7 separate regions of the Homo sapiens genome follow, and regions 2, 3, 4, 5, 6 and 7 are each linked to region 1. Evidence: promoter capture Hi-C in 16 types of primary human blood cells and fetal thymus (Javierre and others, 2016). All regions are on one chromosome and are shown on one strand. Each heading gives the region's core, a stretch centred on a gene start or on the middle of the fragment in contact. The rest is flanking DNA. Distances are from core to core; before and after follow the strand shown. Region 1 holds the start of CD48 (CD48 molecule). Region 2 holds the start of PPOX (protoporphyrinogen oxidase). Region 3 overlaps DEDD (death effector domain containing). Region 4 overlaps NECTIN4-AS1 (NECTIN4 antisense RNA 1). Region 5 overlaps NCSTN (nicastrin). Region 6 overlaps ARHGAP30 (Rho GTPase activating protein 30). Region 7 overlaps USF1 (upstream transcription factor 1).

Region 1 (4,020 bases), core at 421-2,920:
TCCCTCGCCTTAGTCTAGGAAAGGTATAATCATAATAGAATGGTTTGGAAGTTAGACCTGTGTGCCCTTAGGAGAATTTCTTAATCTCTCTGCAAGACAGTATTCTCATCTGAAAAATGTAGATAATAATAGCCACCTCACTATTTTCTAATGAAAGTTAAATGAAAAAGTATGCAAAAGGCCTAGCACAATGTCTGACACACAGTAAGTGCTTAATTTGTATTTTACTAACCCAGGTTATAGCCCGGGTGTTATAACCCAGGTTTACTAACCTCATCAAAACCAATATTATCCATTCAAAGGATAACATAATCAGGTGTGGTCTGATTGTTTCAAAGAAGAATAAATGACCAAGATGAAGCCTAGAAAAGAAGTCAGAGAAAGGTCAACTGTCAGGATGTTTTCAGTATGCCTAGAGAAAGTCCTAAAATATTCCAATTCTCATTGGCAACCCTGCTTTTCCCAATAGTTAGATGAATACTTCACATCAGCCCCCAATCCCAAGGTCATACCAATGTCCTATGCATTGAGTCAGGCCCACAGAACCTATATAGCCGTAGACTCACACAGTCATGAACCAAAGGACTCTACCTGAGAGGTAGAATATGTGAGAGACCGATCCTCCACACATTCTACCTCATCTCCCCAAAAGTTACAAACTATCATCATTTTATGCCACAGTGTGACTACCACATGTTTGTTGATTTTTACTGTTTTACTCAGAGTGGTGAGCATTAAAGCCCTTTAAATTAAAAAGACTTGAGTATTTACTTGGGGGAATAGCAAGAAAGTCAAAGGTTTCACTGCTGTTTCTCAGCTGGCATAAGAAGAGAGGTACTGGATGAAGAAAGAGGGTGAGGCAGCTCTAACAGGAGAAGGAAAGTTAGCTCAGCCCTTGGTCACACACCGGGGACCGAACAGGCTGTGGCAGAGGAATGGACCTTAACTCTTAGCAATCAGATGTGTTAAGGTTCCTTTGATGCTGAAGCACTTCCAGCCTCTTCTCAGACCCTCATTCAGAGACCCCAGACAGCAATCCTTTCCAAGCTTTTCTTCCTATAATTTTGATCTATCTTTTCTTTGGGTCAATGACAATATCATTTACCTTGGCTCAGGATGCAACACCTCACATATACAGAGGTCTCAAAGAATGCCTAAGGGAGTACAGTGTGTCTGAGCATAAAATGCAGCAGCTGTCAGTGTAGAGCTTCTTCTTATTCAAAATGAAAAAACAAACACTTTTCCACAACTTCATGGACCACCAACCACGGGACAAAATATGAGGAGCCTACTTCTCTTGCTCCCCAGGTTCCTGTTTTGATCACATCCCCGTGGGAAAGGAGATGAAGCTCCATTCATCAGTGCTAAGAAAGGCTCCCCAACCATGCCATGGCCATGCTATTGGAATGGAAATACCTGCTTTCCAGACACCAGATCTGGCTTCTAGGGTTGAACTACATCCCGTCTCCCCTTTCCCAACTGACCATGCCTTCAGTGCACAATCACAGATACACAGTTGGTGGAAAGTACCTTGAATGCTGGTCACCAGGAGTGACAGAGGCAGCAGTAGCAATTCCAGAGCCAGACACGAATCCCAACCTCTGGAGCACATGCTTCCTTCCAGAACTTCCCAGCAACGCAGGAGACAGTTGAGAGCCTGGCTAGAAAAAGGCCGGGGCTAAAAACGGAACTTACCAAACAGGGTTAGAGAGAAAAAAAAAAAAACCACTGAGATTTTCTCTCCACCCAGCACACTTGTGTGGGGCCCCAGAAACCAGAAACCGGAGGTCTTGTAAATTTTTTTATCTAAGAGCATCACGGAAACTGAGAACAATTTTGTTTGAAGGTACATGAGTGCTTTTTTGTAGGGGGAAGATTCATAGCTTCTACTGTACTCTCAGGGGGGCCAGTACTCAGAAAAGAATAAGGGACCCTGATAGAGAATGTCTGCTTTTCGTTCCCAGGCAGGAATCCCTCTGATTAATTCAGGGGCTAAGACATAGGAGCTTCCCAGTCAAGCCTGGGTAGGTGTCATTCAGAGCCTGAAGTCTGGGAAATCAGACCCACGTAGCCTTTGTGCTGCATATCTTACCCCCAGCACCACCCTCTGCTCTTCTTCCTTTATGATAATTCACTATTTGAAGTTTGACATCAGCCTATCCACTGAACATCAGAAAAAAAGTAAGATTACTTGGCCCAAAAGAATGGATTTCCCACCCTTGTAGTCTGTATTAGTCTGTTCTCACACTGCTAATAAAGACATACCCCAGACTGGGTAATTTATAAAGGAAAGAGAGGGGTTTTGTTTTGTTTTGTTTGTTTTGGTTTTTTTTTTTTTTGAGATGCAGTCTCACTCTGTAGCCCAGACTGGAGTGCAGCAGTGCAATCTCAGCTCACTGCAACCTCCACCTGACAGGTTCAAGCAACTCTCCTGCCTCAGCCTCCTACATAGCTGGGATTACAGGCAAGCACCACCATGCCCAGCTAATTTTTGTATTTTTAGTAGGGTTTCACCATGTTGGCCCGGCTGGTCTTGAACTCCTGACCTCAAGTGATCCACCTGCCTCAGCCTCCCAAAGTGCTGGGATTATAGGCATGGGCCTGTGCCTGGCCAGGAAAGTGGTTAAATTGACTTCTAGTTCAGCATGGCTTGGGAAGCCTCAGGAAACCTACAATCATGGTGCAAGGGGAAGCCAATACGTCCTTCTTCACACGGTGGCAGGAAAGAGAAGCACTGAGCAGCAATGGGGAAAGCCCCTTCCTTATGAAACCATCAGATCTAGTGAGAACTCACTATCACGAGAACAGCATGATGGTAACTGCTCGTATGATTAACTTACTTCCTACTGGGTTGCTCCCATGATATGTGGGGATTATGGGAACTACAATTCAAGATGAGATTTGGAAGGGAACACAGCCAAATCATATCATGTCTAGGAAATTTCAAGCTCATTCCTATTGAATGTAAATTAGTTATTTGCCCACCCAGGACCCACAGGCAAGCCACAGTTCCTGATATAACATATTTGTAATCACTTTTTAATTGGGGACATTTCTGATTCTCAACATGGAGATGAACAATAAAATGTCTGCTCTTCTCAGTCCTCAAACCTGAAGGACATTATGTTAAGTGAAATAAGTCATGCACAGAAAGATAAAAAACCACGTTCCCAATCATATATGGAAGCTTAAAAAATGAGCTCATAGAAGTAGAGAGTAAAATTGTGGTTATCAGAGGCTGGGAAGGGTAGAGGGAAGTGGAGGATGGGAAGAAGTTGGTTAATAGATACAAAGTTACAGCTAGAGAAGAGGAATAAGTTCCAGCATCCTGTAGCACTATGGAGTGAATACAGTTAAGAATAATTTAATGTATATGTTCAAAAAGCTAGAAGAGAGGATTTGGAATGTTCCCAACACAAAGAAATGATCAATGTTTGAGGTGATAGGTATCCTAATTGCTTTGATTTGATCATCACACATTGAATACATGTATCAAAATATTACTCTGTATCCCATAAATATGTATAATTATTATATGTCAACTAAAAATAAAAGGGAAAAAAACATAAAAGTGAAAAGAAAGAACCCTGCAAATAAAATTTGAAACAGCACCAGAATCAAATTCCTCTTGGTCAAATTGTTACACTTTGGAACTGTGTGTTATATTTTTCCTATAAATTGATTTAACCTTAGGATACGACCCTGCTCCTTCAGCAAGAAAAGATAACATTGTATTAGATTTTTAAAAGAGACCCTGTAAATTAATGTTACATTCTCTTTTTTGGGGGGAGGGGGGCACAGGCTCCCACTCTGTCACCCAGTCTGGAGTACAGTGACCACTATGCATGGCTATTTTTTTAAAATTTTTTGTAGAGATGAGGTCTCACCATGTTGCCCAGGCCAGTCTTGAACTCCTGAGCCATAGGATCCACACTCAGTCAGTGGCAGGACGGGGAGTGCTGTGACCTGCTTCCACCTTGGGCACCAGTGTCTAAATGAAGGGAACACAGTGGCACTAAG
Region 2 (4,020 bases), core at 489-2,988, 450 kb after region 1:
TTGAATTTTCCTTAGGAAAAGTCTGCCACCCACTTTTCCACAAGATGCTCCCAGTGTGTCGGGAGTGGGGAGAGGACAGCTTTCAGGATAGAAGAAGTTCCCCTCAGAGGCCCACTGCCTCCCAAATGCTCCTTAACCAGGGCTTAGATCTGAATCGATTTTCTGCCTCCCGAGGCTCCATCAAAAAAAGTTCAGTAGGTGTAGACTTTCCACTGCAGCGACTGAGCCTAGGGGACTTTGCCAGTGACAAAGCCGGTGAGTCTGGTGGGGAAAGTCCTAAGGAGCCAAAGGAGTGGGGGCACAGCTCTGATTATAGAACTTGATCATCTCCAACCCCGCAGGAAGTCCTGTATACCAGCTGTATGCCCTTTGCAACCACTCAGGCAGCGTCCACTATGGCCACTACACAGCCCTGTGCCGGTGCCAGACTGGTTGGCATGTCTACAATGACTCTCGGTGAGAATAGCCTCCTATTTACATCCTGCCCCATTCCCACTCAGCCCTGACACCCTCCCCTTCTATGAAGCTCCAGGAGAGCAGAGTGCCAGGTGAAAGGAGAGGTGGAGGTCTTGCCTGATCATTTCCTGGATGCTCTGAGGTTCGGTCTTGTAGGGAGAAGGGAGTAAACAGGAATGACCACAACCCTTTCCCGATCTCCTTTTTTCCTAGTGTCTCCCCTGTCAGTGAAAACCAGGTGGCATCCAGCGAGGGCTACGTGCTGTTCTACCAACTGATGCAGGAGCCACCCCGGTGCCTGTGACACCTCTAAGCTCTGGCACCTGTGAAGCCCTTTAAACACCCTTAAGCCCCAGGCTCCCCGTTTACCTCAGAGACGTCTATTTTTGTGTCTTTTTAATCGGGGAGGGGGGAGGGGGTGGTTGTAGCTCCATTATTTTTTTTATTAAAAAATACCCTTCCACCTGGAGGCTCCCTTGTCTCCCAGCCCCATGTACAAAGCTCACCAAGCCCCTGCCCATGTACAGCCCCCAGACCCTCTGCAATATCACTTTTTGTGAATAAATTTATTAAGAAAAAATGATGTGCTTATTTGTATTTTTGCTTAGGGGGTGATAGAGAACTGAGCCAAATTGGAGTCTTCTTGGGACCCAAGTTCCCTCTCTAACAGGTGGGGGCGCTCTCAGAGCCGAGGGGGAAGGTTTCGGGGATGGTGCTGGACCCGGACCTGTGTCCCCCAGCAGTGAAGGTTATGTACTGGGAGGAAAAGAGGAAAGGCATACTTGAGTGAGGCTGCGTGCAGGCTCTGGGGCGACTGGTTTGGTCGGCGATGGGGGAGTGCCACTGTTGACAAACACTGGGTACGTTGCCGGGCGGCCCTAGCTCCCGTAGGCCCGGTCTGTTGCTAACATCAAGGAGCTGTTTATGGAGCCGCCTCCCCGTGGACTGGCCTTAAGTGTCCCTATCTATTCTCCCTACGACCAAAGCTCCTGCGGCCTTCCCTCTAGGGTTGTCACCCTAGCTGGACCTGGTAAGCTTGTGCTGGGGAACGCTAACTCCAGCATTAAGCGCTCGCCGCCTCGGTCCTGAGGAGGGCAGTGACGGGTACGGCCGCTCACTCCCAGCTCGGCGCTAACACGGTTAACCTCCAGCTCTTACAGCTGCCGTCGCTCCGCCTCTGCCAGTTCAATGTTTTATTGGTGAACGTGATCCGGGGCCTTCCAAGTCCCGCCAATCCAGATGTAGGAGAGGTAGGGTTAGGCGCGTGCCGCGAGAACAGAGTGGACGGAGCGTAGGAGAGACCGAAAAGGCTGGGGGTGGGAGTAGCGGATTTGAAGCACTTGTTGGCCTACAGAGGTGTGGCAAGCAGAGCACCTCAGAACTCAGGCGTACTGCCCGCCGCCCGAGCCCTGCGAGGGCCGATAGCGAGGGTGTGGCCCTTATCTGCACCCAGCAGAGCGCCGGCGGGGTACGGTCTTAGGACCTCGATCTCCTTCTCCCTCATTTTCTCTCATCCCTACCTATTGTGGGTGAGTCCTGGCCCCTGGACGGGGACCTCGCTGTTCCACCAGCCCATCCGTGCACACTTAGTTTCCCCTAAAGCAGTGAGTGGCCGGGATAGAACTCAAAACCGGCGGGGCTTCTGGAGCGCAGGTTGTCCCCGGTCTGCCTGTCCATATCGCCCCCTTTCCCCCAGGTTTCCGCATGGGCCGGACCGTGGTCGTGCTGGGCGGAGGCATCAGCGGCTTGGCCGCCAGTTACCACCTGAGCCGGGCCCCCTGCCCCCCTAAGGTGAGTGCTCCACTTGTGCCAGAGGGAGCTTCATTTAATGCTCTTCCCATTTCCATCAAAAGCTAGATGGATCCTGGCCCTCTGAATATGCCTCTTCCCCTCCCCTCCTGACCTCTCGCCGGCGGCTACAGGCGGTGCTGCAGTGTCTCTCCCTCTTGTCGCCAGGTGGTCCTAGTGGAGAGCAGTGAGCGTCTGGGAGGCTGGATTCGCTCCGTTCGAGGCCCTAATGGTGCTATCTTTGAGCTTGGACCTCGGGGAATTAGGCCAGCGGGAGCCCTAGGGGCCCGGACCTTGCTCCTGGTGAGAGGCTTGTGGGATGTCTAGGAGAGGTTGTGGAGGGGGCTTCCATTGGGGAATAGAGTTTAGGGGAGGAAGTATGTTTGGTGGGTCAGATCTTCCCTTAGTTTCTCCTCTTCTGAGGGCATGTGGAGAGCAGGTTTCTGAGCTTGGCTTGGATTCAGAAGTGCTGCCTGTCCGGGGAGACCACCCAGCTGCCCAGAACAGGTTCCTCTACGTGGGCGGTGCCCTGCATGCCCTACCCACTGGCCTCAGGTAACACCAGCACCTCCGCTCCTTTTACTGTGCCCTCATCCTCATATGCCTTCCATTTCTTTCTTCTTTTCTTTTTTTTTTTTTTTTTTTTTTTTTTTGAGACGGAGTATCGCTCTCGCCCAGGATGGAGTGCAATGGCGCGATCTTGGCTCACTGCAACTTCCGCCTTTCGGGTTCAAGCGATTCTCCTGCCTCAGCCTCCCGAGTAGCTGGGACTACAGGTGCCTACCACCACGTCTGGCTAGTTTTTGTATTTTTAGTAGAGATGGGGTTTCACCATATTGGCCAGGCTGGTCTTGAACTCCTGACCTTGTGATCCGCCCGCCTCGGCCTGCCAAAGTGCTGGGATTACAGGCGTGAGCCACCACGCCCGACCTGCCTTCCATTTCTTCATCTCCCTGTCAGCCTTCCCAGCAAAAGGAAGCCAAATGAGTGGAAATGACCCCAGCGCCTGGAGCTGGGGAGGTATGTCAGGAGCTTCCCCCTCACTATGCCTTTCTCCATGCAGGGGGCTACTCCGCCCTTCACCCCCCTTCTCCAAACCTCTGTTTTGGGCTGGGCTGAGGGAGCTGACCAAGCCCCGGGGCAAAGAGCCTGATGAGACTGTGCACAGTTTTGCCCAGCGCCGCCTTGGACCTGAGGTGACACTTGCCCAGAGGCCCCAAACCTCTTCCCTCCTAAACCAGCTGCAGAGCTCCCTGTTCAAATCTACCACCTAGGGGCTCTTCTGTATCATTTGGGGATGCCCTCTTCTCTTCATACCCCACCCCCTCATAATTCCCAAAACTCATTATTGGGAGTGAAGGCCTTCATTTCCATCCGTCACAGTGGGAATGTCCCCCAACCCAAACCCTATCCCACCCTCATTCCCTACCAAATAGGGGCTGTGGAAATCAGTCAGTGTAGATTATTTTTTCGCTCCTTAGTCCTAGTCTCACCCTTAAGGTGGCGTCTCTAGCCATGGACAGTCTCTGCCGTGGAGTGTTTGCAGGCAACAGCCGTGAGCTCAGCATCAGGTCCTGCTTTCCCAGTCTCTTCCAAGCTGAGCAAACCCATCGTTCCATATTACTGGGCCTGCTGCTGGGGGCAGGTGAGGGGGGATTGATTCAGAGGGTGAAAATATTAAGTACTGCCAAAGTGAGGGAGTGGGGACAAGGGGTGCTATTCAATGATTCTTTTTTTCTTTTTTGAGACGGAGTCTTGCTCTGCTGCCTAGGCTGG
Region 3 (4,020 bases), core at 728-3,227, 410 kb after region 1:
TGTTTATTAAATTTTTGAAGTGTTTGTTTAAAAATAAACACTGGCCAGGCACAGGGGCTCACACCTGTAATCCCAGCATTTTGGGAGGCCAAGGCAGGAGGATCACTTGAGCCCAGGCGTTTAAGACCAGCCTGGGCAACATAGGGAGACCCGTTTCTACAAAAAAAGAAAAAATTAGCTGGGCTTGGTGGTACACGCCTGTAGTCCCAGCTGCACAGGAGGCTGAGGTGGGAGGAAGGCTTGAGGCCAGGAGTTCAAGATCAGCCTGGTCAACATAGCAAGACCCCATCTCTACAAAAAAGAAAAAAATTAGCAAGGCATGGTGGCATGTGCCTGTAGTCCCTGCTACTCAGGAGGCTGAGGCAGGAGGATCACTTGAGCCCAGGAGTTCAAGGCTGCAGTGAGCCATAATCCTGCACTGTAGCCTGGGTGACAGAGTGAGTCCCCCATCTCGGAAAAAAAAGAACTAGTTTAAATTCTGACTGTATCACTGAAAGGCTGTGTAGCTGTGTGACCGTAAGCAAGTCACTTAACTCCAGATTCTCAGTGCTGTCATCTATAAACAGGGATGAATGAATATACACCTCAGAGTTGTTAAGAATCCAATGAGAAAATCACGGGTAACCCTTATATAAATGGTTGTGAAACATTTCAAAGATACAAGCATCCTTGGCCTTTGCAGCCCAGAATCATCCCTCCACATTTTTCCTACAATCCAACCACATCAAGAAATGATAACTGCTCAGAAAGTTTATCAATATTTACCAAAACTCATGGATTTAAAATAAACATTAAGTTTCTACAATAAGCATTCTTGTAATTCTATGCCATTTGTACTCCCTTGATCTTCACCCTATTTGGCAATATCAACTTTTTTTTTTTGAGATGGAGTCTCACTTTGTCACCCAGGCTGGAGTGCAGTGGTGCAATCTCGGCTCACTGCAACCTCCGCCTCCCAGGTTCAAGCAATTCTCGTGCCTCAGCCTCCCAAGTAGCTGGGATTACAGGCACGCACCACCACGTCTTGCTAATTTTTGTATTTTTAGTAGAGATGGGTTTTTACCATGATGGTCAGGCTGGTCTTGAACTCCTGACCTCAGGTGATCCACCCACCTCGGCCTCCCAAAGTGCTGGGATTACAGGCGTGAGCCACCGTACCTGGCCTTGGCAATACCACCTTCTAAGCTTTCCTCATGGATGTCATTTACCAATCCCCTATCAATGACCAATCACAGCTCCACATTCGTTATATAGTTTGGCTCTTGATTCACAAAGTTCCTCCATCGTTATGGGCTACAGGTAATACCAATGACGCAGCCATTAATCAATTCCCAAATTCAACAACTTTGACTCAAGTCACTCATACTTACTGCTCCACCAGACAGTACCATCCTATACTGTGCACTCTCTGGTCACACTCTCCAATCACACAATCAATCCTAAATTCCTGTTAATGCTACTTCTAGATATTTCTTAAATCTATCCTACCTTTCCACCTCCACTGCCATGGTTCAGATTACAATAATCTCTCACCTGGACTACTGTAACTTTAAAAGTTCTCTGCAACACCAATCTTAACCTACCTAAATCCATCCACTGCCACATCTAGTTCAGTTAGCTGTCTGAAGTCCACAACTGACCAAGTCACTTTCCTGCTTCAGACCCATTGATTGCCCCATCGTTATCTATAAGAACACTCCAAACTCTTTTTTTTTTTTTTTTTTTTGAGACAGAGTCACTCTGTCGCCCAGGCTGCAGTGCAGTGGCGCGATCTTGGCTCACTGCAACCTCCGCCTCCCAGGTTCAAGCGATTCTCCTGCCTCAGCTTCCCGAGTAGCTGGGACTACAGGCACCCACCACCACGCCCAGCTACTTTTTGTATTTTTAGTAGAGACGGGGTTTCACCATATTGGCCAGACTGGTCTCGAACTCCTGACCTTGTGATCCGCCTGCCTCGGCCTCCGAAAGTGCTGAGATTACAGGTGTGAGCCACCACGCCTGGCCGAACACTCCAAATTCTTTACACACACATCAAGCCTTCTAAGATCAGGCCTACCTTCCCAACCTCATTTCCCATCACATCCGCTTTTTATTCTCTAACATTATCAGTTTGTTTATAGTTCACATACATCATGCAATTTCTCTATACCTTCTTCAGGCTCTTCTCTTTGCCTGAATGCCCCTCTCCCTTCTCTATTCCACACCCCCATCATCACTCTTTTTCAGATGGCTAACTCCTACTCATTCTTTAAGAGTCAGCTCAGATGCCATCTTCAAAATGCATTTTCTACACCCCCATGCAGAGATAAGTAGTCCTCTTCTGTGCGCTTATGGAACACTATGCATATCTCCTTTACACCATTTATCACCATGTACTAAAATTATTTGTGTATTTATTATCCCATTAGATCCTACTCAACTCATGGAGAGATATATTCATCTTTATATCCCTAGTGCCTAGTAATGGACAGAGCCTCAAATATAGTGGGAGCAACCCACTGTTGAACTGAACTTAATCTCCAAGAGATCACCTCAAGCAATTCCAATTAAGAAACAAATTCACAAAAGTCCAAGAGAGGACCCCATTAAAAACAGATACAGGTAATTCAGTTACCATGCATATATTCTAACTAGCCATAGCCTCCTCTGCAATGTCCAGAACTACCCACACCATACCACACCACTCTACCCTACTCAACAATTAAACAGGTTGCTCTGTCCATTTTATACAAAAAGGAACTGAGGCTAGACTAGGAAACAATAAAATAATAAGCTTCTTTGGAAAAACAAAGCTGATAGAGAAAGCTGAAGAGTAAGTAGGAACTGGTCCTTTCTTCCTCAGATGAAAAACTAAAATGAAAGCACAGAGAAACTCATTCCCTTAAGAAAAGGGGAGGTACACTCTGGGATCACTTAACCCTATACCATGGGTTCTGATATGTAGACAGGAAATGTAATCCATATATAGTTTTGAGAGCCCAGATGCCCCACCCAAAGCATGGGAAATAGCTATTCAACTATAGACTGGTATTCCTTGCCTCTTCCTCTCGATTCACCTGTTGCTGTTACTGGGTACAAATGAAGGTGCTAAAGGAAAATAAGTTATTGCTCATAGCAGGCAACATGAGAAAACTGAGCCTCCTCAGAGCCCCTGCAACTTCTCTTTGTTCCCTATCCCACCTGTTCCCTTGGGCCAGCTGTTGATTGTGAGGCTCTCAGATAAAGCAGATTGGGTAGGTTTCACATTAAACCAACCAGAAGAGCTGGTTGCTCCACAGTTCCCTAATTTAAAGTGTGCTTAAACCCCAGGAAATGAAGAAACACTGTCCCCACATACCCTCGCAATGGAAAATAAGGCAAAATACAGGAAAGCACTGTGGTCCTAATTATGTATCAATGGATGTAATTCTATAAGCTTCAATCCTTTGAAGTTAACTCCCTACATTTGAGAGGAAACAAACACACTAGCCACCTTTAAGTCCTAGATCCCAGGCTAGATCATCAATGTACTAGGAATTATAATAGCTTTTAGGTCAGTGGTTCTGAACCAGGGGCAAATTTGACCCCTGGGGAATATGTGGCAATGTCTGGAGACATTTCTGATTATTATGCCTGGTGGGGAAGGGGACTGCCATCAGCATGTAATGAGTAGAAGCCAGGGATATTTAGAAACATCCTATAGGACAGGTGCAGTGGCTCCCGTCTGTAATCCCTGCACTTTGAGAGGCCAAGGTGGGAGGAACACTTGAGCCCAGGAGTTTGAGATCAGCTTGGACAACATGGTGAAACCCCATCTCTATGCAAAATATAAAAATTAGCCTGGCGTGGTGGCATGCACCTGTGATCCCAGCTACTTGGGAGGCTAAGGTAGAAGAATCGCTTGAGCCTGGGAGGTCGAAGCTGCAGTGGGATGTGATAGCGCCACTGCAGTCCAGCCCAGGTGACAGAGTGAAACCCTGTCTCAAAAGAAAAAAGAAACATCCTGTAATGCACAGAACAGTCTGCCACAACAAAGAATCA
Region 4 (4,020 bases), core at 1,120-3,619, 380 kb after region 1:
CACTGAAAATTTAGTGAACGGGAGGGACAACATCACTTGCAGTCTAGGGCTAATACAAAAACCAGGTAAATACAGAGATAGACGTGGGAGAAGAAAAAAATATAGGTTAAAGTTTTGCCATAGGACCCTTCCATCTGGAGAAGGCAGAAAGGAGGAATAAAGAAGCCATAAGGAAGAGTTGTTCTGTGTAGATTTTCTACCACCACCATCCCCACCAACTCTACCTGTCAAACTCTTATTCATCTTTCAAAGCTGACCTCAAATGCCACATCTTCGTGAAGCCTTCTCTGCTCCTCCCACCCCAAATTAATCTTTCTTCTATTCTTCCTCAGCCTTTGCTAGTCCTTTTATTATAGCTTATGTGCTCATAATTTGTGCACATCTTATCTCCTTAACTAAATTGTAAGCTTCAAGTCAAAAAAACATCGATTGAGGCCTGCTGTGTGCCAGGAATTCAGTAAATGTATTAAATTGCGGGACAGGACAAGAGTTGTAGCCTGTGAACTCCTTGAAAGTTGGGCTTGTTTTATAATCTTGTCTCAGTCTTCCATGCTAGGACAGGCCACAGCATTTCATGGGAACTGACTACATTTTGGTGAAGCCATGAATTTCTGAATAAATGAGTTGTCCGGATGAAAAGGATGGTGAAGTCGGATCAGTAAAGCAGAGATCCCGACTGGCTGTGAGTTACTATCCTGAACTAGGGTTGTGACCTGGACTTTACTCCTGTCACTGGACTATGACCCCAACTCTGGCTCTAGATGCCAAATGACCACGGCAGTGACCTCTTCTTCAGGGGCTATTTCCTGCAGGTCAGAGGCCCTTAAAGGCCAGGCCGGTTGCCAGAATTCCCCAGTTTCTCTCCACCTCCAACCCCTTCTCTTTTTCAGGTCCCCACCTGTGCCAGGGGAACAGCCCCACCCAGATGCTGCTTTGAGATCCTCTGTGGCAGGGGTGGAGTAGGGCCAGCGGGAATGGGAGGGGGAGCATCCTGTGTTATAATTATAATTATCACACCTTGGATCCTATCGCATGCTTTCGGAGGAGCTGCTTTCCTTCCCACGGATTCACCCCTCCAGGTACAGGAAGCCACAGGAGAAACTGAGGCACAGGAGTGGAAAAGCAGTTAGTTCACAAGATGGATATCCAATCTCCTTCAGCCTATCCATTCACAGTATACCCCGTGAAAGTGCTACCAGTCAGGATGTCTCTGAACCCCTGGTTGGGCCCCTTAATCACTCACCCTGAACTCTAGCCATACGGAGCATGGAAAGGAGGCAGAACTGTCCAGAGGTGGAGTTAGGGTATGGCTATACTCATTTTTTCATGGGTATGATGCAGCCTTGAAGTAGGCTAAGGGCACCACAGGGCCTGAGAGGGAGCACTAGAGTCCAGCAGCCCACTCCAGGCCTTTGACAGAGTTAGGGATCTCTCTCCTCATTTCACAAATACCTATCTCAAGTCCCTCTGTCCCCTCCTTCCCCTCAGCCCTGTATGTCTCACAAGAGCCATGCTTTTGGAGAATATGCCCTCAAACTTAGGCCTTTCCTACCCTCTCCTAGGATGAAGGCTGGGGAAGGCATATTCTAGGATTGAGACTGGAAGGAAATATTGGATGAGGAAGATTTTCAAGACCAATGCCTGGTATCCTGGTTCGGTTCTCCCTTCCATATTGAATTCCCATTCCCCACATGCCTCACTCCTACCCTCCTCCTACCCACATTGTGGTCGCTAAGAATGAGAACAATTCAAGCCATGATAGTGTCTTTATCATGTGTGTTTGTCTGAGTGACATTGCTGCGTGCGCGCCTGCACCCATGCATTCCTTCAACAGACATTAAATGAGTGCCACTATGTGTCAGGCTCAAGGGAGGAGACCGAGACACATAACACATAGTCCCTGCCCTCAAGGAGCCTTCAATCAGGAGAGGCAGACACAGAAACAACTGTAACATGCTATATCCCACCATCATGTGTTCCCTACGTATCTCTGTACACATACATGCTATGCACATATGTGGGACTGTCTCTGTATGCACAGCAGCGGATGTTCTTCATGATCTGCATGCATCCAAGCATCCGCTTATACCTGTCTCTGTCCCCATGACAGGCTGCACGCCTCAGCCAAACCGGTTGGAGTGGGTTGTGCTGAAATTTTTGTTTGTGTCAATGGGACTTGAGGTGAGTCAGAGAGGGACAAGGATGGGTGGGGTGGTGTGGGGGAGAAGAAGAGTGAGAGTGAGGGTCAGATTGAGTGGGGGAGGGAAGGAGTGGGCCCAGGTTGGAAGGGGTGGGAGTGAGAGTGGGGTGCAGGAGGATGAGTTGGGGGTAGGAGTAGATGAGAGAGCTCCTTGGTGAGTAATATCCTGTCTGCCTGCAGTGAAGTCCCAGGTCAGAGAAGAGTCAGAGGCTGGGGGAGAGTCCCTTGTGCTTAGGGAGAGAGGAGGGTGAAAAATAAATCAGAGTGGAACTAGTTGGAAGCATGAGAGTGGATAAAATATTTGTGATCCATTTCTGTACAGCTTTGTCTCTGTGATAAGCTATTCCTGATCTGCTCATTGCAAACTTTCCGCAGTTTGTACAGAAAGGTGTTGGGGAGCTGATGACGTGGTGAAAGATTACCAATATGGGCCTTGATCTCACCCCCCAGGACCAAGGCTTCAAAGTCACTCCTCCTGCTCCTCCCTAGGATCACCCCTGCTCCATCCCGGGAGGTATGGGCATACCCCCATACAGAACACAGGGGCTCCAGCAGCTTTTCTTCCCCTAGAAAACACCTTTACTCCCCTCCTGATGGAACTTCACTATGCTCAATATTAGGATGGTGGCCTCCTGTTTTCTAGAAAATTACATCAAAACATTGCCATGTGCTATGTTGTTCTTTGCCTATCCTGCAGGCCCACCGATTCCCCAATACCCAGCCCCCAGCCCCATCCTTTAATGATAACCACATTTCTTGGTTGCCTAACAACCCTTGGAGATCAGGGGGCTGAATTTGCTTGTTCCTCGAGGGCCCTAAAGCTGGAGTGTGCCATCCAGGGGAGGAGGCAGCTAAATGCAAGACATGTTCAGGTCCCGTTTCTCGGTAGGTCCAGTTGTGTGCAGAGCCCCATCCTCCTTGCTCTCAACCCATGAACTTCGCAAGTTTCCATGAACACACTACCATGAAATCCAGGACCACAGTATGGGTTAAGGGACAAATATCTTTATTTTGACACTAAGACCCCACTGTGGGGAAATTCTACTCCCTGAAAAGGCCCTATGTATTGAAGCTCACTCAGGTCTTCATCAAAAATTGAGACCTTATGACTGTGCCCGGGGACCCCAAACTGGTGCTATAGTTCTAGAAAGCAGCCAAAGGGAAGAAGTCTGGCCACTTCTGGAAAGTTCTAAAGCTCCTTGCAGGAAAGTCAGATGGCTGGCTCTGGTCAGCAGGAAAAAAAGGGCAGTAACCCAGAGAGAAAAACACAAAAGTCGAAACAGTGAGAGACAGATCTCAAGGCACAGTGAGAAAAATGGAAACTTAAAGACAGAAAAATATACAAATGCTCCTTGACTTTTATGATGGGGTTATGTCCTGATAAGCCCATTGCAAACTGAACATATAAGTTGAAAATGCATTTAATATACCAGTCGCTAGCCCTAGAAAATATCAAAATTTAAAATTCAAGTATGGGTCCTACCGAACACGCTATCATTTTTGCATCACTGTAGTTTAAAAATTATAAGTTGGGTTGGGCATGGTGGCTCACACCTGTAATCCCAGCACTTTGGGAGGCTGAGGTGGGCGGATCATGAGGTCAAGAGATCGAGACCATCCTGGCCAACATGGTGAAACCCCGTCTCTACTAAAAACTCAAAAAATTAGCTGGGCTTGGTGGTGCGTGCCTATAGTCCCAGCTACTCAGGAGGCTGAGGCAGGAGAATCACTTGAACCCAGGAGGCGGAGGTTGCGGTGAGCCAAGATTGTGCCACTGCACTCCAGCCTGGTGACAGAGCAGGACTCCGTCTCAAAAAAAA
Region 5 (4,020 bases), core at 729-3,228, 360 kb before region 1:
TTTATCCTTTTTTAAAACTTTTTTTCCTTAAATTCAACTGACAGGCCGTTTATTTTCACACTTTGTGTGTTCCAAAAGAAGGTTCCATGACACTGTGGCTTTAAAAACTATCAAAATCATAGGGCAGGAAAAGTAGTAATCTAAAGGCTAACCTGCTGTCTTCAGATTTTGTTTCCCATGGACAATAGCTCTGTCAGAATGTAGTTTTGCAGATAAGCAGGAAACTTGGGGTCTGATACTGGCTTCTTCATCATCAAATTGATCACCTCTGAATTTCAGTTTACCCCTGGAATAATGGTTGGAGTACTTGCATAAAGCTGAAAGTCAAATACCTCTTAATAGTTGTTTATTGATGACGCTAGGTAAATAGGGTGGTCTCAAAAGTGCTGTATAATTTCCTGAAGCCTTCTTCCCATTTGATAAGAGAAAACTGGGACACTGAGAAGTGAAGGACTTGTTCGTGGAAGCAGTTACTACTTTTTTAGCCATCTTTCCCTGAGCTATAGTATCTGTTAATTGTCCCATGTCCCTGCTATACAAAGCACTGGGAGTAGGTTGACTGGTTCCAAACAGCCCCAAATAAAGTTTTTGTTGTACTTAGTTTCTTTTTTTTTTTTTTGAGATGCAGTCTCGCCCTCTCGCCCAGGCTGGAGTGCAATGGCACAATCTCAGCTCACTGCAACTTCCTCCTCCCAGGTTAAAGCAATTCTCCTGTCTCAGCTTCTTGAATAGCTGGGATTACAGGCGCGTGCCACCGTGCCCAGCTAATTTTTTGTATCTTTAGTAGAGGCGGGGCTTCACCATGTTGGCCAGGCTGGTCTCGAACCCCTGACCTCGTGATCTGCCCGCCTTGGCCTCCCAAAGTGCTGGGATTACAGGCATGAGCCACCATGCCCAGCCCTCTGGACTTAGTTTCTGAACTGGTTTGTAGGTAGAAGAGAGCTAGGTCCAGGGTGGGCTGAGATCAGACTGCTGGTCTTGCTGGAACCTCACTATAAAGTACAGAAGGCCAGGACCCCAACCTCTTGTAACTAGGCTCTAAGAAAACTCCTTTGGGAATAAGTCATTCTACTCTATGTTCTTAAAACAGCTCTGTAGGAAGCAAAGCCTCTAGAGGTAAAGCCACGTGCCAGTACAGAGAAACAAGAGGGGGTAAGCGGGACTGTGGCCACTTCCTCATTAAGATCTTGGTTCCTTTTCAACCTACTTATTTCCAAATCTTACTTCGTCATATCTGTCTTTTCTGAGCAGGCTCCGCCCTTTTTAATTAGTGTAGCTAACATGATAAAACTAAGGAGAAAAAAGTGATACCCAGATTTGATTTCTGATTATAATACTCTGCTTCTCTTAGACGCTTTAAAGTTCTCAAAGGGGGCTTTAAATAGGTTTCTTTTCCCTCCCTCCCTCCTTCTATCCTTTCTTCCTTCTTTCGTCTGTCCCCACAGTATGAGATGAATAGAGGTAGAAAACCTCATTGAAGGCGCAGAGAAAATAAGCAAGTTACTTAAGACTACACCATTACTAGTTGGAACCCAGATTAGAATCCAGGTTTTTTTCAGTCCAGTATCATAGTTTGTCTTCCTGTCCTCGCTGGAGTTGAAGTTTTGGGGTGTGTGTGTGTGTGTGTCAGAGTCTCACTATGTCACCCAGGCTGGAGTGCTGTGGCACAATCTCAGCTCACTGCAGCCTCCGCCTCCCAGGTTCAAGCAATTCTCCTGCCTCAGCCTTCTGAGTAGCTAGCATTACAGGTGTGCACCATCACACTTGGCTAATTTTTGTATTTTTAGTAGAGATGGGGTTTCGCCATGTTGGCCAGGCTGGTCTCAAACTCCTGACCTCAAGTGATCCACCCACCCACTTCGGCCTCCCAAAGTACTGGGATTACAGGCATGAGCCACTGTGCCCGGCCGAAGTTATATATGTTTTAGTTGCCACACTATCTGTTCCTTTTCCCATGTTTTAAATGCTGTGGCAAGGGCCGGGCATGGTGGCTCACTCCTGTAACCCTAGCACTTTGGGAGGCTGAGTGGGCATTTAAAGTGATGCTGATATACAGCCAGGGCTGAGAACTACTGGTCTAAAATAATTGATGAATAACATATCCAATTTTCTGTAGGGAGAAGACTCACAGGGAGACCCTAGGATATCTCCACACAGATCACTGGGGACTTAAGGAGTATTACCTAATGCCTTGAATTATGTAGAATTCAAAGTATTCTGGACTCTGGGTCATCCATCCTCTAATACAGTGCTTCCCAATCTTTATCATGTCATGAGACACATAGAAAATGTTATTTGTATAGCATCCTGGCACATAGAGAAATGGGTGATATTTTCAGGGCATCCTGGGGTAAATGATAAGTAGGCTCCTGGCTGGAGGTGACTTTGGAAACCCTAGGTTTCCTGGAATGAGGAGAACCAATGAGAGCACATCTCTGATCCATTCGAGGCTTATCAATTGGGAAGCTCTGTTTTAGAAACCTCAGAGTTCTTGACTAACCTCATCTAAAACCGGCCAGAAGCAAGTAAAGTCATTCCCAAAAAGGGCAAAAGGAATGACGATCCAGGAAAGCTCCTGAGGCCAAGGGCATGTATGCATGTGTTTTTACAAAGGAAGATTCAAAGCTAAAACCCTGAGCTAGAGATTTAGTGGCATTTCCTAGAGAAAATATAGGTTTGAAAACTTTGGTGTCTATTGTTGTAGAATCTTATGTATATGGCTAAATAAGGTTGAGGGCAGAGGGCAAAAAAATGAAGTTCACAGAACCTTTCTGGCATATAATGAGTCCTCTTGTGCTCTTTTATATTCCATTCCCTCCTGATAACCTTCAGATGGAGCTGGGGCAACAGCTTTTCAGTTCAAATCTAGAGGTGCCTGTATTCACCCAAATATGTTGTGACATCTTTAGGGGATAAAAGATACGCAGAATCAGTGAGGCAAAGTCAGAATTGTTAACTATGGGAGCTTTAATTTGACTCATTCTGTCCTGGCAGCTTCAATTAGTGGAGACACAGGGGTTATCCACGTAGTAGAGAAAGAGGAGGACCTACAGTGGGTATTGACTGATGGCCCCAACCCCCCTTACATGGTTCTGCTGGAGAGCAAGCATTTTACCAGGTAAGAACTAGATGTATCTGCTGGGAAAACATCCATAGAGGGAAAGTTTCAGTGAACAGTCCTCACACTTATTAGTGAAAACTTCCCTTGGCTGCCCTGGTCTGGTCAGGGGAGAGGGCAGGGTGGTCCTCAGAAGGAAAGGTGTACCATCAAAAGAAATGATCTTGAGCTTAGGGCTAAATTTCACCTACCTGTCCCTGAGTAACCCTGGGCATCCCTCCCCTCCCTCCCTGGGGTCCTTACTCACTAAAGCTCTACTTTTTAGAGCAGATCATTGTCCAGACTCAGAATTTAGAGACTGAAAGGGAAGAAATAAGTCAACAGTTTGATTCCCCTAGTTCCCCATTTGTTTCCATCCTGCAGGCAGAATGTCAGGCTGTCTGATACCTTCCTGTGTTCCTTCATGGAATTCCTTTCCTATTCCAGGGATTTAATGGAGAAGCTGAAAGGGAGAACCAGCCGAATTGCTGGTCTTGCAGTGTCCTTGACCAAGCCCAGTCCTGCCTCAGGCTTCTCTCCTAGTGTACAGTGCCCAAATGATGGGTTTGGTAAGTGTCCCAAAGGATCAGGAGAGCCTACTGTCACCTAAGGCTCACTGTTGCTTCGGTCTTACGTCTTTGTGAGGGATGTATATGTGTTTGTGTCTGTGTGTAGTGTCAGTAACTGACTCCCAAACAGGGGGTAGTGTTTATTTGTCTTTGCTGCTCATCCCTTCCCTCTCCTGCTTCCCCTTCCTTTGCCTTACCTGGCATTATCTCTTTTTGTCACGTGTTCACATCCCTAATCTTACAGCCTAAGACTCCCTGATACCATTGTCTTTCTATTTTAGTGTGGATGGTAATAGACTTCATGCCTACTTCTTTGAGTCACCACCTCCTTTTGAACTCTTAGTCCCAACTGAA
Region 6 (4,020 bases), core at 968-3,467, 350 kb after region 1:
CCTGGTATATAAGACCCTTCACAAATCAGGTCCAGACACCATTTCAGCCACAGCTCCAGACAATTCCTTGACAAATCCTATGAGCCTTGGTAGCATCACTCATATTATTCCCGTGCCTGGAATTACCCTCCCTCTGACTCTGCCTGGTGAACTTCTATGCATTCCTTAAGACACATCTTAGGCCAGGTGCGGTGGCTCACACCTGTAATCCCACCACTTTGGTAGGCCGAGGTGGGCAGATCACTTGAGGTTTAGAGTTTGAGACCAGCCTGGCCAACATAGCAAAACCCCGTCTCTACTAAAAATATAAAAATTAGCCTGATGTGGTGGCATGTGTCTGTAGTCCCAGCTACTTGGGTGGCTGAGGCAGAAGAATTGCTTGAATCTGGGAGGTAGTTGTTGCAGTGAGCTGAGATTGCACCACTGCACTCCAGCCTGGGGGACAGAGTGAGATTCCGTGTCAAAAAAAAAAGAAAAAAAGCACATCTTAAACATAACCTCCAATTCCAAACCTTTTTCTTATATCTATATTATAATTCGCCACAGTCTTTGTTCTTTTTTTTTTGAGACGGAGTTTCGCTCTTGTTGCCCAGGCTGGAGTGCAGTGGCACAATCTCGGCTCACCACAACCTCCGCCTCCCAGGTTCAAGCGATTCTCCTGCCTCAGCCTCCCTAGTAGCTGGGATTACAGGCATGTGCCACCGTGCCCAGCTAATTTTGTATTTTTAGTAGAGTCGGTGTTTCCCCATGTTGGTCAGGCTGTCTCGAACTCCCGACCTCAGGTGATCTGCCCACCTCAGCCTCTCAAAGTGCTGGGATTACAGGCGTGAGCCACTGCGCCCAGCCATTCATGTTTGTATTATAGCACTTCTTGCAGTTTGTTATGATTAGTTTATTTTGTATTGATACCTCCTGACATATAATAACATCCTCCCAGCATCTGGCACAATGTTGAAACAGAGCAGATGCTCAATGAATGTTTGTGAAATTGTTGTGGGAAGTCAGGGACCCCAAATGGAGGGACCGGCTGAAGCCATGGCAGAAGAACGTGGATTGTGAAGATTTTATGGACATTTATTAGTTCCCCAAATTAATACTTTTGTAATTTCTTATGCCTGTCTTTACTGCAATCTCTAAACATAAATTGTAAAGATTTCATGGACACTTATCACTTCCCCAATCAATACCCTTGTGATTTCCTATGCCTGTCTTTACTTTAGTCTCTTAATCCTGTCAGCCAAGAAGGATGTATATCGTCTCAGGACCCCGTAATAATTGCGTTAACTACACAAATTGTACAGCATGTGTTTTTGAGCAATATGAAATGTGGGCACCCTGAAAAAAGAACAGGATAACATCAATTGTTCAGGGAATAAGAGAGATAACCTTAAACTCTGACTGCCGGTGAACCGGGCAGAACAGAGCCATATTTCTCTTCTTTCAAAAGCAAATGGGAGAAATATCGCTGAATTCTTTTTCTCAGCATGGGATATCCCTGAGAAAGAGAATGCGCACCTAGGGGTAGGTCTCTGAACGCCCCCCCCACCGGGGCGTACCTGTCTCTTATGGTCCAGATTGCAGAGGTGAAATAAACTCCAGTCTCCCATAGCACTCCCAGGCTTATTAGGAAGAGGAAACTCTCGCCTAATAAATTTTGGTCAGACCGGTTGATCTCAAAACCTGTCTCCTGATAAGATGTTATCAATGACAGTGGTGCCCAAAACTTCATTAGCAATTTTAATTTCGCTTTGGTCCTTTGGTCCTGTGATCTCACCCTGCCTCCACTTGCCTTGTGATATTCTGTTACCCTGTTAAGTACTTGATGTCTGTCACCCATACCTATTTGTATACTCCCTCCCCTTTTGAAACTCTCTAATAAAAACTTGCTGGTTTTTGTGGCTTGTGGGGCATCACGGATCCTACCAATGTGTGATGTCTCCCCTGGATGCCCAGGTTTAACATTTCTCTCTTTTGTACTCTGTCCTTTTATTTCTCAAGCCAGCCGACGCTTAGGAAAATAGGAAAGAACCTACATGATTATCGGGGCAGTTCCCCCGGTATGAAATGACTCAGTGAATTAATCAATTATGAGAATCAATAACATCCCTTGGAGATTTAACAGAGAATATTGCCAGTGACAGAATACTGGGTTCTATTAACTAGGACTCATCAGAGCAATTCGTCTCACATATCAGTGTCAGAAAAAGCTGTGTTTGGCATGGCAGCTCATGCCTGTAATCCCAACAGTTTGGGAGGTCAAGGCAGGTAGATCACTTGAGATCAGGAGTTCAAGAACAGCCTGGGTAGCATAGCAAGACCTCATCTCTACAAAAAACAAAAAATTAGCAGGGCATGGTGGCTCACACCTGTAGTCCCAGCTACTCAGGAGGCTAAAGCAGGAGATTGCTTGAGCCCAGGAGTTTGAGGCTGCAGTGAGTGATGATGGCACCATTGCACACCAGCCTCGGCAACAGAGTAAGACAAGAAAGAAAGAGAAAGAAAGAAAGAAAGAAAAAGAAAGAAAGAAAGAAAGAAAGAAAGAAAGAAAGAAAGAAAGAAAGAAAGAGAAAGAAAGAAAGAAAGGAAAGGAAGGAGAGGAAGGAGAGGAAGGAGAGAAAAGAGAGAGGAAGGAAGGGAGGGAGGGAAGGAAGAGAAAAGGAAAGGAAGGGAAGGGAAGGGAAGAAGGGAAGGGAAGGGGGAAAAAGCTGTGGTTCTCCTAAACCATCTAACTTTTTTTCCTTATGGGCCCATGAGTCTTGCACTTGATTATGTTTATTTATTTATTTATTTTGAGTTGGGGTGCATTCAAGCAGTTCTGGTGCCTCAGCCTCCTGAGTAGCCAGGACTACAGGTGCACGCCACCATGCCCTGCTAATTTTTATGTTATTTAGTAGGGATGGGGTCTCACCATGTTGGCCAGGCTGGCCTCGAACTCCTGACCACAAGTGATCTGCCTGCCTCGGCCTCCTAAAGTGCTGGGATTACAGGCGTGAGCCACTGGGCCTGGCCTATGTTTACCTCTTTAACCACTAGGAAGCTCAGAGCCCACCTCTAAGAACCATACAGAACAATGTAATATGCATTTCTGGGTGCTGATCTTTCTCTTCCTCTTGTTTTTCCTTCAACCCAATTCCTTCAATCATTTATTCTAATTTTTTGTAAAGTTTTAGGTTTTGAAAGTCATTCCAAGCTCTTTGTTGAATAAAGTATGACAGAAATATGGAATGAAGAAAATAATCAATAAATTCATCAATCCCAATCTTTCCTTTTTCTTTTTTCTTTTTCTTTTTTCTTTTTTCTTTTCTTTTTTTTTCTGAGACGGAGTTTCACTCTTGTTGCCCAGGCTGGAGAGTGCAATGGCGCGATCTCAGTTCACTGCAACCTCCGCCTCCCAGATTCAAGAGATTCTCCTGCCTCAGCCTCCCAAGTAGCTAGGATTACAGGCACCCACCACTCTGCCCGGCTAATTTTTATATTTCTAGTAGAGACAGAGTTTCTCCATGTTGGTCAGGCTGGTCTCAAACTCCCGACCTCAGGTGATCCACCCACCTTGGCTTCCCAAAGTGTTGGGATTACAGGCGTGAGCCACTGCACCCGGCCCCTTATTTATTTATTTATTTATTTATTTATTTATTTATTTATTTATTTGAGACAGAGTCTCACTTTGTTGCCCAGGCTGGAGTGCAGTGGTGCAGTCTTGGCTCACTGAAGCCTCAGCCTCCCGAGTAGCTGGGACTACAGGCGCACACCACCATGTCCAGCTAATTTTTGTATTTTTAGTAGAGACGGAATCTCACCATGTTGGCCAGGCTGGCCTCAAACTCCTGACCTCAAGTGATCCACCCGCCTTGGCCTCCCAAAGTGCTGGGATTACAGGCGTGAGCCACCATGCTCAGCCAACCAAAATCTTTCAACTCTCCTCATACGACCTGGCTTTCAGACCCTTCATCCTCCTGCACACCACAGCCAGGAGTTGGGTGGGATTAGGGAAGCATCTAGTGTGCAAAATTTAAGGAAGCA
Region 7 (4,020 bases), core at 1,521-4,020, 330 kb after region 1:
TAAGGAATTATACAAGATTTAGCAGGTATTAGGACCACTTATGGTAGCTAGGTGTGGTGTCTCACACCTGTAATCCCAGCACTTTGGGAGGCCGAGGCAGGCGGATCACTTGAGGTCAGGAGTTCGAGACCAGCCTGGCCAACATGGTGAAACCCTGTCTCTACTAAAGATACAAAAATTAGCCAGGGGTGGTGGTACATGTCTGTAGTTCCAGCTACTCAGGAGGCTGAGGCATGAGAAACGCTTGAACCCTGGAAGCAGAGGTTGCAGTGAGCTGAGATCATGCCACTGCACTCCAGCCTGGGTGACAGAGCAAGACTCTGTCTCAAAAAAAAAAAAAAAAAAAAAAAACCACTTACGGAATCTGAGAAGAAACAAGGGTCACTCACGGGGAATAAGGGTGAGTCCTAGGGGCAATTGAGCGCTGGCTTCCTCCCTGCAGTACTTCTTGTGGTGACATCATCACAAAGAATTGACCTGTGAAGATGCAGGGTAGGTTCTGTCAGGACATGGGTAGGAACCTCACCAAGCCCTGAGGTGAAGACCCTGGTCCCCTCCTCTAAAAAGAACATGCTAATAGAAGAGCAGCCCCAGACTCACTGCCTGTCCAGGTCTTAATGATCACTAAGAGTCATGAGTGAAGGCTCACTGCCTACCAGTCATGTCCCACAGCCTATTCTAGCCCTTTCAGCCAGCATCCTCATGCAATATCTCACCAGTGCCAGGAGGGGTCGCCTGCCCCAGCAGTGCCTCTGAGCCCTGGGTAGTAACAACAGCAGCTGTACTCCCCGATGTGGTACCCCCTGCCCCATCTCCCACTGCCGTGCTGGGGAAGTAAGTATAGTGCGTCTCAGCAGCTGTCCCCTCCGTGTCAACTGCATCATCACTGGTGAAAGCACCCTGGATCACCGCCTGGGAAGGGGAGCAAGAAAACTGATTCTGGTAACAGTCAAAAACTTCTTCCCACTACACCACTCTGCAGCTTCTATCCGTTGGGGTGGTAGGTAGGGTGGAGAGAGAGAGAGAGAGAGAGAGAAACATCCAGAAAAGGAGAGCCTAGTGCTTTGGGACAAGGCAGCCTTAGATGCCTCACTGTTCCTAGCTTCACCCCCATCCTACTGATTCCCTTCTTCATCTTACTTCTCAGAACTCTAGTGACCTCCCCAGCCCATACCCTGTACCTGGGTCATGGATTGAGTGGCAGGGTAGCCACTGATGGCGCCAGTTCCCTCAGTTTGGCCATCCAGCTGCCCCTCAGACACCTGGATCACCCTGTACATCACCTAGAAGTGTAGAGGAAGGCAGAGGGAGTGAAGAGAGAAGAAAAGATTAAGTGTTGGGAATCCTAGGGCCCCTCATAAAGCTTCCCTTGGATAGGGCCCCAAAACAAAGTCCTTCAGAGACATGGATTCAGCCATTCTCCCTTCTTTCCCCACACAGAGGTTTCAGCATACATCTAACCTCACACCAGTCTCTACTCCAGTATTAGCACCTCCCTCCCCTGCAACAGTCCACTCTTTCAACTCATCCTCCAAGCCAGGTCTCCCCAAGACATGTTCAATTACCTCCCTCAATCCCAACCCCAGATAACACCTGCAGCCACCTGGCCCCCTCCCTTACCTGGCCCCCATTCTCAGTTCGGAAGACGTACTTGACGTTGGGGTCAGGGAAGGTGGCAGCTGACTGGATGCTGGCAATAGCCACACTGGTTGGGTCTTCCCCAGTAGCCACTGCACCTGAATTAAAAGAACAAAGGAAAAGTCTGTGAGTTAACTGCCTTTCTACCCCCGTTCCATTTGCATGTCACGGAAGGAGGAGGATGCACAGGAGATGGTCTGGTGGGGAAGGAAGGGAGGCCATGATGGGTTCTTAGTCTTGGTTCTGTTTCTAGCACTCACCTTCCTGAATCTGCACTGTCCCCTCTTCCGTTTCAGCTGTTTTCTGCTGCCTGTTTGTGGTGAAAGGACAAAAGGAAGAGTATGAGAAGAAGTCAATGAGAAGCTCACTGGCCCAGTAACATATGGCTGCAAACTCATTGGCATTCCCAACAGAAGCTGGGTTAGGTTAGAATAACAACTAGTGTTTACTGTTTACTATGTACATAAGCACTAAGCTAAGTACATTACATGTAATCTTATTTAGTACTAAAAACAGCACCACGAGATAGATAGCACTACTTCCATTTTATAGATAGAGAAACCAAATCACACAGTAAGTGATAGAGTAGAACCTGAATCCAGGTCTGCCTGACTCCAGAGGCAGTGCTCTTGGTCATTTTGCATTCTTCCAGGCCACCCATCTTTCATCCCAGACCCTACCTCTTCTTCACTCACCCCTTCATCTCTCTGTGAGGGGGCACATCCGAGGAACTGGTCCTTTTTTGGAGGTCTTTGTATCTCCTGATTCACAGGCCTGAGTGCTAAGTCCTGGTAGAAATCATGAAGTTTGCAATGAGTTTAGGAAACAGAACAGTATCTCTGGTTCTAGAACTTAGGTTCCATGAACACATAGCCAGGAAAATAACCCAGTCATCTGCAGGGGACAATCAGCCTCCACCATACTGATGTTGAGGACTGGCCTACAGTGATTGAAAAAGCAAGGCTACAAATAGTGTTCCCCATCCCTCCATTATCACTCCAACTCCTGGTGGAGAGTGGATAATTATACTGGAAGACAGAAACAACACTTTTTTTTTTTTTTTTTTTTTGAGACAGAGTCTCTCTCTGTCACCCAGGCTGGAGTGCAGTGGCGCGATCTCAGCTCACTGCAACCTCTGCCTCCCAGGTTCAAGTGATTCTCCTGCCTCAGCCTCCGGAGTAGCTGGGATTACAGGTGCACACCACCACGCCTGGCTAATTTTTGTATTTTTAGTAGAGACGGGGTTTCACCATGTTGGCCCGGCTGGTCTCGAACTCCTGAGAGCATGATCTGTCCACCTCGGCAGCCTCCCAAAGTGCTGGGATTACAGGTGTGAGCCACTGCACCTGGCCGAAACAACACATTTCTTTCTTTTTTTTTTTTTTTTTTCTGAGACAGAATCTTGCTCTGTCACCCAGGCTGGAGTGCAGTGGCACAATCTCGGCTTACAACCTCCATCTCCTGGGTTCAAGTGATTCTCCTGCCTCAGCCTCCTGAATAGCTGGGATTATAGGTGCCCACCACCACGCCCAGCTAATTTTTGTATTTTCAGTAGAGATGGGGTTTTACCATATTGGCCAGGCTGGTCTGGAACTCCTGACCTCAGGTGATCCGCCTGCCTCGGCCTCCCAAAGTGCTTGGATTACAGGCATGAGCCACCGCACCCAGCCAACAACACATCTCTAAATGGATCATTAAAGCTATTATGACCTGCCATGATGGCAGCTTCATGGGAATCAGGAAGGGCCATGTATTGGCCCCACCATCAAAAAATACAGTGTCATGGACACTGATGCTTCTTCCAGTTTCTCAGCCACATGTTGTCCATCAAGACATTTCTGTTTTCAAACCTAGGAAGAGGAAATCTGAAGCCCACTACCACTGGAAGAATATCCCTGACCACAAAGACTAGACTTGGCATTTGGGCCCCATTCTACTGACAGGACTCTTGTTTTGGGGTATCCAGATTTATATAATCTGTTAGAAACCCTAAAGCCCAAGTGGATCCTCTTCAAGCATTCTCTATTTTATTCATCAAGCCTTCCTGCAGAACAACACTGTTGCTAAAATGTTGCTATGACAACTCCAAATCAACTAAGCCTGAGCAAGAAGGGGTAAAAAAAAAAAAAACAGGGTTCTGAAGAAGAGACAAAGGGGGAAGAATCCACCTACAAGCTCTGCCTTAGGACCCTGACACCCAGCCAGAGGGCAGGAAAAACAAAGAGCTGGGCAGACATGCCTCCAGAAAGAAACAGCTACACAGTACAAAGCAATAAGATAATCCCAACACAAAAGGGGCAAGATTTTTGGAAATTCTCTACCCATAAGGTCCTCCAAACCTTTCCTATCCAAGGAAAATTTTCAATGGATAAGCCTCGGAAA

The links. Contacts are between HindIII fragments. The CHiCAGO score rates a contact against its expected background, and 5 or more counts as called.
Region 2: the fragment with the promoter of PPOX here is called in contact with the fragment with the promoter of CD48 in region 1 in 1 of 17 cell types (erythroblasts); the score reaches 5.5 in erythroblasts.
Region 3: a contact is called between a fragment that was not itself captured here and the fragment with the promoter of CD48 in region 1, in 9 of 17 cell types (naive B cells, total CD8 T cells, activated CD4 T cells and 6 more). The highest score is 9.1, in naive B cells.
Region 4: a contact is called between a fragment that was not itself captured here and the fragment with the promoter of CD48 in region 1, in 10 of 17 cell types (total B cells, naive CD4 T cells, non-activated CD4 T cells and 7 more). The highest score is 8.2, in total B cells.
Region 5: a contact is called between a fragment that was not itself captured here and the fragment with the promoter of CD48 in region 1, in 1 of 17 cell types (activated CD4 T cells). The highest score is 5.8, in activated CD4 T cells.
Region 6: a fragment that was not itself captured here is called in contact with the fragment with the promoter of CD48 in region 1 in 1 of 17 cell types (naive CD8 T cells); the score reaches 5.2 in naive CD8 T cells.
Region 7: a contact is called between a fragment that was not itself captured here and the fragment with the promoter of CD48 in region 1, in 11 of 17 cell types (fetal thymus, naive CD4 T cells, total B cells and 8 more). The highest score is 17.8, in fetal thymus.

Annotation. Positions count from the first base shown.
Region 1 is chr1:160,710,152-160,714,171 of GRCh38, forward strand. CD48 (CD48 molecule) reads right to left here and starts at 1,671. Exons shown (of 4, transcript NM_001778.4): 1 at 1,531-1,671. The coding sequence starts at 1,612. RefSeq lists enhancers at 1,920-2,099, 2,640-2,699. The HindIII fragment of the contact is 2,140 bases long and covers 1,046-3,185 here.
Region 2 is chr1:161,164,688-161,168,707 of GRCh38, forward strand. PPOX (protoporphyrinogen oxidase) reads left to right here and starts at 1,739. Exons shown (of 13, transcript NM_001122764.3): 1 at 1,739-1,985; 2 at 2,153-2,247; 3 at 2,413-2,547; 4 at 2,684-2,799; 5 at 3,308-3,440; 6 at 3,745-3,889. The coding sequence starts at 2,161. It overlaps USP21 (ubiquitin specific peptidase 21), which reads left to right. Exons shown (of 14, transcript NM_001014443.3): 12 at 148-255; 13 at 342-456; 14 at 670-1,036. The coding sequence ends at 760. RefSeq lists an enhancer at 2,794-3,457. The HindIII fragment of the contact is 28,112 bases long and covers 1,490-4,020 here.
Region 3 is chr1:161,124,638-161,128,657 of GRCh38, forward strand. All of the region lies in intron 2 of DEDD (death effector domain containing), which reads right to left. It also overlaps a transcript of NIT1 not described here. Among named protein-coding and RNA genes, the nearest start is that of DEDD, 6.0 kb to the right of the region's middle. The HindIII fragment of the contact is 1,588 bases long and covers 1,184-2,771 here.
Region 4 is chr1:161,090,558-161,094,577 of GRCh38, forward strand. It overlaps NECTIN4-AS1 (NECTIN4 antisense RNA 1), which reads left to right. Exons shown (of 4, transcript NR_183641.1): 4 at 1-175. Among named protein-coding and RNA genes, the nearest start is that of NECTIN4, 3.0 kb to the left of the region's middle. RefSeq lists an enhancer at 2,219-2,318. The HindIII fragment of the contact is 3,929 bases long and covers 406-4,020 here.
Region 5 is chr1:160,346,005-160,350,024 of GRCh38, forward strand. NCSTN (nicastrin) reads left to right here. Exons shown (of 17, transcript NM_015331.3): 3 at 2,995-3,118; 4 at 3,545-3,666. Among named protein-coding and RNA genes, the nearest start is that of NCSTN, 4.6 kb to the left of the region's middle. RefSeq lists an enhancer at 814-863. The HindIII fragment of the contact is 5,933 bases long and covers 1-4,020 here.
Region 6 is chr1:161,062,267-161,066,286 of GRCh38, forward strand. All of the region lies in intron 1 of ARHGAP30 (Rho GTPase activating protein 30), which reads right to left. Among named protein-coding and RNA genes, the nearest start is that of ARHGAP30, 5.6 kb to the right of the region's middle. The HindIII fragment of the contact is 5,541 bases long and covers 1-4,020 here.
Region 7 is chr1:161,040,935-161,044,954 of GRCh38, forward strand. It overlaps USF1 (upstream transcription factor 1), which reads right to left. Exons shown (of 11, transcript NM_007122.5): 2 at 2,334-2,426; 3 at 1,899-1,948; 4 at 1,621-1,736; 5 at 1,182-1,283; 6 at 717-912; 7 at 390-477. The coding sequence starts at 2,341. Among named protein-coding and RNA genes, the nearest start is that of USF1, 3.0 kb to the right of the region's middle. RefSeq lists enhancers at 823-982, 3,843-4,020. The HindIII fragment of the contact is 2,818 bases long and covers 1,362-4,020 here.